2 separate regions of the Homo sapiens genome follow, and region 2 is linked to region 1. The links are contacts of gene promoters, found by promoter capture Hi-C in blood cells and fetal thymus (Javierre and others, 2016). All regions are on one chromosome and are shown on one strand. Each heading gives the region's core, a stretch centred on a gene start or on the middle of the fragment in contact. The rest is flanking DNA. Distances are from core to core; before and after follow the strand shown.

Region 1 (4,570 bases), core at 702-3,201:
GTCTATATCCCATCAGCTATAATATTCAAATGTGTCAACTCACGTGATGCTCACAACCCAGTGGGGTAGAAAGTATTATCTCCCTTGTACAGATGGAGGAAACCAAGGCATAGACTTTCCATAGTCACACAGCAGAGGCAGAATTTGAACCCAGGTACCCTGGCTCCGAAGCGTTTCCTCCTAAGAGCTATGCTGCCTTTCAGTATACCATTGCGATTTCACAGGTCACCATGGTTAACCATTTCATTTATTTCCTTTGACCTCACTTTTAATTTGTTATTGTGTCATATTTTATGTACCCTTGTAAGTTACCTGAAATCCTTTCTGCCACAAGGTGAGGTAAGGCATAAATAAACAGTGCAGAGTGTGGTAAACGGCACAAGAAGGCACAGCTAAATTGCTACCCCGGGGTAAGAAGATGAATCCAGGCTGTCCTGCAATGGAATGGATTTATTTTCTTGAGCTGTGGTGAGCTCCCATCCCTGGAAGAGCTGGCTTGGGTGGCCGTCTCTCTGGGAGGCTGGGGAAGGCCTTCTTCCAAGGAGACGGAGCTGGGCCAGACGAGCCCCGAGGCCCCTTCTTAGATTCTCAGGGTTTATGAAAATGCCAATAAGACAAACTGAGGCACTTAATGGAGCTAATGCAGCAAGGCAGCCCTTGGGCCGGAACCAGGACCTGGGGCTTTTCATCCGGGTCTATTACTGGACCACACATCTACAAGTAACAAATAAACGAGCAGAGATTCCGTTCCAAACTCTCGGCCCAGTGTATTCCTTTCCCAGAGCTCTCTGGCTGCTGTTGCAAGATGACCAAAGGATGCTGTCACTGTCCTCAGTCTTTTTATTGGGGCGATGGAGAATGAGGCAAGGAGGGGCTGGGTGGCCCCGCAGATGCCCCATGACACCATCATTCGGCAAGGTTATGCATTTGACGAATGCCCTGCAGTGGAAGGAGCCCAGGCTTCTCTTCCTGTTTTTGATGTTTACTTGGGGGTTGATCTTGTGCGAGTTTCTTCAGCTCCCGGGACCCTCAGTTTCCTCATCTGCAAAATGGAGTTAATACAACAGCAAAGCTGCTGTGGAGGTCCCATGAGCTATTACAGGGCTTTGCACCCTTAAAAATGCGGTTGAGGAAGTACCGATACGCCTGCCTCAGGGGATCTGGGGAGGGCTGGGCTGTCCCCATGCCTGAGACCAGGCAGGCCCGTCTTGGAGGGGCGGTGGCCAGCGTCCAGGTGCTGCCAGCTTCCTACCCCTTCAGCCTCCTGCCCACCACTGCTCCCTTGGCTAGAACGAAGCCGCGTTCCCGACAGACAGGCTCACGCACGGTGATATCCGTGGGAGTGCGGGCGAGCAGCCCCTCCTCGCCGGACCCCGGGGGCTTCGGGCAAAAATGGAGAGCAGGCAGAGGTCACATCCTCCTCCTCTTCCTCACGCTCCCGGGCTGCGTGCCCACAGGGGCACAGCCCTGTGCGCGGTGCCACCGGGGGCCATCAGGCTGGGTTAGAGGAAGGCCCGACCTCCGCGCAGCAAAGAAAACAAACACAGATGTGTTTGGCTGGGACCGGGAGGGAGAAAGTGGCCCCCTTCCCCCGCCCGCGCGCTCCCCCGGGCGTGAGGCTCTCCGGGCGGCGCGGGGCGCGGGCGAGGCTGACAGTCCCCGGCGGCCCCTCCTCCCCCACGGGGTGCGCGCCTGGCCCGGCCCAGCCCCCTCTCCGGGGTTTCCCCGGGTGCTCTCCTCGCTTTCTCTTTGTCTCTGCTGTTCTTTCTCGGGCTCCCGGGTTCCCACCCGCCTGTGCTCTCCCTCTCGGGCGTCCGGGCCGGTTCCCTTTAACTTTCTTCTTTCCCGGGGTGAAAACTTTGCTCGGAGCTGGCGGCAGCTCGCGGACGTTATTGGCCGGCGCCCCGCCCGGCGGCCCCGCCCCCCGCCCCCGCGCTCCCCTCCGCCCCTCACTCCCAGCGCGAGTGGCGGCGGCGGCGGAGCCTTCGGGGGCGAGCGCGCGTGTGTGTGAGTGCGCGCCGGCCAGCGTGAGTGTGTGTGCGCCCCGGGCGCGGGCAGGGCAGCACTCCGAGCTCGGCGGGAGCGGCGGGAGCCGGGCGGCCGCGTAGTCACTCGGGCGAGAGAGGCGGCGGCGGGGCCGGGACCGGGGCTGGGGCTGGGGCAGCGGCGGCCGCGCCGGGCATGGAGCTGGCAAGCCCGCGCTGAGGCGGGACGCGCCTGCTAGCAGCGAGCGAGAGGCTCTCCGGCGACCGGCGCGCGGGCTCCCCGGAGGGGCCAGGCAAACTTTTCTTTCTCTTTTGCCCCCTCCAGAGGTAAAGTCCCGAACGCGGACTTTCCGGCGGGGACGCGATCGGGGGGCATCTGAGAGGGACCCCGGGCTGCGAGACGAAGGGGCGCGGGCCGTGCAGAGTCGGGGTCCCCCAGCTCTCCTGCGCCCGAAACTTGGGGTGCGAGGGGGGCTGGTCGCGGACGGGGAGACCGGCTCAGGCATGCCCCTCGGGCGGCGTGGGGGCGGCGGTGGCGGGGAAGCAGAGCGTTCTCCCGCCGGGCGGGGAAGAAGGGGCGCGAGCGGTGCGGACTTGGAGGGCCCCGGCTTCGCCGCCCGCGGGACTTTGGGGGAGAGAGGCGGGCAGTCGGCTGCGGGGTGGGTGCCCAGGAAGCCGGGCGTTCTCCCGCATCTCCGCTCGCCACCCCGCCGAGAGCTGGAGGGCGCGGGGCGGGCTGGCTGAGCGCAGCTCCCTTCTCTCCGCAGGCGCCTTCTGCGGCAGGCGGACAGATCCTCGGCGCGGCAGGGCCGGGGCAAGCTGGACGCAGCATGATGCGCGCAGTGTGGGAGGCGCTGGCGGCGCTGGCGGCGGTGGCGTGCCTGGTGGGCGCGGTGCGCGGCGGGCCCGGGCTCAGCATGTTCGCGGGCCAGGCGGCGCAGCCCGATCCCTGCTCGGACGAGAACGGCCACCCGCGCCGCTGCATCCCGGACTTTGTCAATGCGGCCTTCGGCAAGGACGTGCGCGTGTCCAGCACCTGCGGCCGGCCCCCGGCGCGCTACTGCGTGGTGAGCGAGCGCGGCGAGGAGCGGCTGCGCTCGTGCCACCTCTGCAACGCGTCCGACCCCAAGAAGGCGCACCCGCCCGCCTTCCTCACCGACCTCAACAACCCGCACAACCTGACGTGCTGGCAGTCCGAGAACTACCTGCAGTTCCCGCACAACGTCACGCTCACACTGTCCCTCGGCAAGAAGTTCGAAGTGACCTACGTGAGCCTGCAGTTCTGCTCGCCGCGGCCCGAGTCCATGGCCATCTACAAGTCCATGGACTACGGGCGCACGTGGGTGCCCTTCCAGTTCTACTCCACGCAGTGCCGCAAGATGTACAACCGGCCGCACCGCGCGCCCATCACCAAGCAGAACGAGCAGGAGGCCGTGTGCACCGACTCGCACACCGACATGCGCCCGCTCTCGGGCGGCCTCATCGCCTTCAGCACGCTGGACGGGCGGCCCTCGGCGCACGACTTCGACAACTCGCCCGTGCTGCAGGACTGGGTCACGGCCACAGACATCCGCGTGGCCTTCAGCCGCCTGCACACGTTCGGCGACGAGAACGAGGACGACTCGGAGCTGGCGCGCGACTCGTACTTCTACGCGGTGTCCGACCTGCAGGTGGGCGGCCGGTGCAAGTGCAACGGCCACGCGGCCCGCTGCGTGCGCGACCGCGACGACAGCCTGGTGTGCGACTGCAGGCACAACACGGCCGGCCCGGAGTGCGACCGCTGCAAGCCCTTCCACTACGACCGGCCCTGGCAGCGCGCCACAGCCCGCGAAGCCAACGAGTGCGTGGGTGAGTGGGGTGCGGCGGCGGAGCCGGCGGCGGGTGGGGCCGCGGGCGGGAGCTGCTGGGCCTCGCAGCGGCGAGTTCATAGGAGCGCGGGTCGAGGGAACGGCGGGAGGCGCGTTCGCCGATGCCCGGGACCCGGGAGGGCTCAGAGCAGGTCCACTCGCTCGCGTGGCGCTCGTGGTGGACGCCCGAATTTGCGCCCAGTGCTCTCTGCGAAGCCAAGAAGCAGCAGGAGAAATGTTCCCGGGAGGGGGTTTGGCAGAACATTTGCAGATAGGTCTCCGCTAACCCTGGATCCAAACGCAAACATTCATTGCCTTCCCCCTCGTTGGGTTGGACGCTGGGATTCACCTGCACCCACCCCCCTTTCCCAAGGCTGCAGCTGGGCTCGCGGTTGGGGACCCCGGCCCAGTTCCTGGGAAGTTCCAACTCCACACCTACAAATCCCTTGGGAGATGGCAAAGAACTGTTTGTAGTTTGGGGTCAGTTCGGTACCCGACGAGTATCACTCCTGCCCTCCATTTGTCTTTTCATGATTTGAAACTATTTTTGTCTCTCTTTTGAACAGCGTGTTTGTGTTAGCAAAAGAAGAATGATGTGATTTCAATTAATTACTATCTGCTGATTACAACGGAGCGTTCAGTAATTATTTTAAACGAATTCAATTCTGGTCTAAAAAAGTATACCAGATTTTTTTTATTAGCTTCAGGCTTTGGTGAAATTAAACAGTTTTGAATTAA
Region 2 (4,570 bases), core at 687-3,186, 230 kb before region 1:
ATTTTTCAAAGGGTCTTCTAGGGAACACTAGTTCTGAAAGATCGTGATTAGTGTTACATGCGAAGAAGGCTGTGACACCACATAAGGGGAATTATAGGTCAAAGAGAGAGAAACAAGTTTGTTGACTGCAGGCTTTTGAGAGTCTTTAATTGCTAACAGGTATTGCAAGTTTCTAAAAGGTGACAATAATTAACATCATTTTCCAAAGTTGTTTGACCACAGACAGAATCCTTATGTAATGCTCTCCCCAACCCTCCACACCACTAGGATTGCATGTTCTGCAAAACTCAGTTGGGAAATAGTGGTCTAAGTAAACCTGAGCATGATGGTTAATGGCTCATTCAATATTTACATTCCTCTTAGCTGGAACCAAGACATGTCAGAGGGTCAAACTCAATATCTTTAACAGCTACAAGATCAGGAGCTGAGAATTGTATTTACTTTTGATTCTGTAAAGCTTAACTGACCTACTGGTAAAGTAGGTAATAGAGTGAAAGTCACAGCTTGAAGTCTAAGACTTTACGACCCAGTCCTTCCTCCATACGCCGGCTTATTTCATAAACTCCATGAGGGTCTTTTCAGAAGGTCCCTGCGCTCAGCTGTCCTGTCTGCCCAGAGAGAAATGCTCACTATTTAAACTTCTCACTTGACATTTACGTTGTCCTGTCCCATTCTGTTTGTGGACATGGTTTTGTGGTTCGGCCTTTCCTTCTAAATTGTCAGTATTGTTCCCAGGCAGGCTTTGTCATAGAAACAAAGTGCAGTTCAAGGTTTCACATCTGCACAAATAGGCAGGGTGGGTAGCATCGGCCTCATATCCAAGGGAGAGAGTCCGTTGAGTGTTACTCCGATCGGACGGGGGGGGTAGTTCACATGTGCATCCCCAAACAATGATTGCGGCCCTGTGAACAAAATGTGCAGAATGGCATAAAGCCATTGGGAGGTGACATTAATTACCCCGGGAAGATGTGGGAGGCATCTGGTGACGTTATGCAGGAGGGAGTGGTAGACGCGTTCCTAAAGACTCACCCAGCACCCTGAAGGATCACAGCCTTGCTCAGTACATACTTATGAAGGAAGGGTGACCTGAAGAACGCTTGAGCCCAGGGCCTTCACTCTGAACTTACTTCCCTCTATCACAGCCTCTGACTCTGCAACACCTCACCCCAGGGTGCCGCCAGCATAAAGACAGAAGCCTGCAGGGCTCAACAAGGAGAAGGGGCAAAGTGAAGAGAATTCGGGAAGCTCGTGACAGCAAAATCACAGGTCATGGAGTAAAGGGAAGACGAAATTAGAAAGGAGGTTTCCTAATTTGGGACATTGGGAAGATATCTGGCAGAAAATCTGCCTCAAGCAGGTTCATCTGTTTAATTAACCTGAGGCCAGTGACTGTTTTGTTGTTGTTGTTGTTTTATCCATGAAATGTGACCAGCATGAAAAATCTGATATGCATATTTCAGAGGACAGCCCCTGTGACATTCGTCAGCTTATTAAAGGAAACAATATGCCCTAAAACGTGAAAAGCCACTTCCTTGAAACCAAGTCGAGGGGGAATGGTAAACCAAAGTTAGCAGAAATAGAAAAGTAGGGTGTTGGTCAGGAAAGACTTCCTATAGAGATGTGCCTGTCAGAAAGATTACTATTCCCATCCCGCATGCTGGAGACCCATGTGGCAAACAGTGTGGCAGGGACAGACTTTGTTTAAACGAAGGAATTTGCACTGAAGATCATCTTCCGCATTTTTATAAACTTTGAAAGCAGTCAGTGGTCTCAGCATTTTCCTACAAAGGCCATATCCCCACGCGTACATTTGAATTCTCAAAAGCTCTTTCTCCAAAAGCATTGCTAATAAAAAATGTAAAAAAAAAGAATTGTCAAAGGGGCCTCTAGAGATCATTTGACTTGGTTCAATATCTTTAGGCTTGTGAGTATGTAAAACTATCCAAGACACAAAGTTATCAAGTCTTTTTGTTTTGTTCTGTTTTTTTTTTCCTCCCATTAAAGCATTCTAGAAACAAAGACCACTGCTCTGAAGCATTTACTATTCTGATAGGTAATGTGCTCTTATAGTCACCTGAGGCTGTTGTTATTCTTGTGTACTTCTATGCTGCTGATTAATTTTCAAAAGCACGGTACAGAGAAAGGGTGCTCAACATTACTAGTTATTAGGGACATGAGAATTAAAATCACAGTGAGATACAGTCTGTCCTCTGTATCTGTGGGCTCCGTACCTGCTGATTCAACCAACCATGGATCAAAAATAATCCAAACAACAACAAAAATAATACAGATGCAAAAGTAGGGAATAACAACTACTTACATAGCATTTACATTATATTAGGTATTTTAAATAATCTAGAAATGATTTAAAGTATATAAGATGATGTGCATAAGTTATATGCAAATACTATGCCATTATATAGAAGGGACTTGAGCATCCTTGGATTTGGTATCTGTAGGAGGTGGTCTTGGAACCAATTCCCCAAGGATACCAAGAAACAACTCTACTACTACATGCCTGTTAGAACGGTTAAAATTAAAGAGATTGATTTTACTGAGTGTTGGTGAGGGTGTAGAGAAGCTGGAACTCTCATGCCCTGCTGGTGGGAATGTAAAATGGCACAACCACTTTGGGAAACTATTAGCAGTTCTTTAAAAGTTAAACATATGTCTACCATATGATTTGGTCAATCCACTCCTTGGTATTTACCCAAGAGAAATGAAAGCGTGTGTTCACACAAAGACTTAGATATGAATATTCATAAAAGTTTTATTTGTAATCATCAAAAACTGAAAGCAATTACATGTTTGGAATTGAAATGTATGGTAATATAATACAATATAAATGAATGGATAAATCGTGGTATATCCATGCAATGGAATACTACTCAGCAATGAAAAGGAAGAAACTATTAATGCACTTAAGATCATTGCTGATTTTCAAATTAATTATCCTGTGTAATAAAGAATTTGGCCTTTGTCCCCAGTTCCTGGGAGATAGGCTCTAAATCCTTGGAATTTTCCAAGTCGAAGAGTGTCTTTTTTACTGGTGGTTGGCCTGTCAACCACACTTGAGTTTATGCTAATGAGGTGACTCATGATGGGACCTTACACAATTTATGCTAATGGAATGACTCAAGATGGGGGCTGGCCATGCCAGAAAAACCAACCATGTATTTAGAAGGTTGGGGCTTTGAGCTTTTGATATAGGCCTGACTTCTGGGGAGAGGAGCAGGGCTGAAGATTGAGTCATAGGCCAGTGATCCAATGAGTCATGCCTATGTGATGAAGCCCCTAATAAAAACAATGGATATCAAAGCTCGGGTGAGTCTGACTGCTTGGCTACGCTCAGTGTCTTGTCTCACATCAGTGTGCTGGAAGGGTCCTTTGTCCTGACTCCACAAGGAGAAGACATGGAAGCTTCATGTTTGGGACACTCCCAGTCCTTGCCCTGTGCATCTCTTCTTTTGGCTGGTTCTGATTTTGAAAACTTTGGCTACAATAAAACTGTAATAATAAGTGTAGTTCTTTCGTGGGTCTTGTGGGGTTTTCTAGTGAATTACCAAACCTGAGAGGGGAGTGGGAAGCCCCCAAAATTGTGACTGCATCTGAAGTGGGAGCAGTCTTGAGCCCTTAACCTTGAGCCTAGCTCCTGGTAGTTGTTGTCAGAAGTCATTGCAATTATGCTGAGTAAAAAAAGTCAGAATAAAAGAGGACATACTATAGTCTTTAAAAATGCAAATTAACACACAGTGACAGAAAGTAGATCAGTGGTTGCCCGGGACCAAAATGGAGCACGCTACGGAGGAGGGATTATAAAGGGCAGGAGGCATTTCACCGGTGTTTGAATATGTGCAGTTTATTATATGTTAATACCTCAATAAAGCTACTTAAAAAAAAAAAGCTCAGTGTGGCCTCTTATGACCCTGACCAGAGCCCTCCATGGCTTATCCAAAGTCTACAGGATCAAGGCCTTTCATGACCTGGTCCCATCTGTCTTTCCAGCCTTGCATTTAAGCACCATCCTACACAAATCCTTCGCTTTAGCCAAACTGTATGTCTTGCTACCCTCCAAGTATTCTTCATGCTTTTTCCACCTCTGCAGCTTTGTTTATATAGTCATAGAATGCCCTCTCCTAGGTTACCACCCTCACTTTACCTGTTAAAAGTTTACCTACCCTAGGCCGGGCGCAGTGGCTCGCGCCTGTAATCCCAGCACTTTGGGAGGCCGAGGTGGGCGGATCACTAGGTCAGGAGATCGAGACCATCCTGGCTAACACGGTGAAACCCCGTCTCTACTAAAAATACAAAAAATTAGCCGGGCATGGTGGCGGGCGCCTGTAGTCCCAGCTGTTCAGGAGGCTGAGGCAGGAGAATGGCGTGAACCCGGGAGGCGGAGCTTGCAGTGAGCCAAGATTGTGCCACTGCACTCCAGCCTGGGCGACAAAGCAAGACTCCATCTCAGAAAAAAAATAAATAAATAAAACAAAAGTAAAAATAAATAAATAAATAAACTTTACCTATCCTTGAAGACTTAGACTTAAATATAATCTCCACAAAACCTTATTTG

Evidence for each region. The method cuts DNA at HindIII sites, captures the fragments that hold promoters and counts their contacts. A CHiCAGO score of 5 or more calls a contact.
Region 2: a contact is called between a fragment that was not itself captured here and the fragment with the promoter of NTN1 in region 1, in 5 of 17 cell types (total CD4 T cells, activated CD4 T cells, naive CD4 T cells and 2 more). The highest score is 6.3, in total CD4 T cells.

What each region holds. Positions count from the first base shown.
Region 1 is chr17:9,019,559-9,024,128 of GRCh38, forward strand. It overlaps NTN1 (netrin 1), which reads left to right and starts at 1,952. Exons shown (of 7, transcript NM_004822.3): 1 at 1,952-2,027; 2 at 2,753-3,833. The coding sequence starts at 2,816. RefSeq lists silencers at 1,314-1,363, 1,414-2,203 and an enhancer at 1,350-1,893. The HindIII fragment of the contact is 7,248 bases long and covers 1-4,570 here.
Region 2 is chr17:8,788,852-8,793,421 of GRCh38, forward strand. No RefSeq gene overlaps it. Among named protein-coding and RNA genes, the nearest start is that of MFSD6L, 8.2 kb to the right of the region's middle. The HindIII fragment of the contact is 2,963 bases long and covers 456-3,418 here.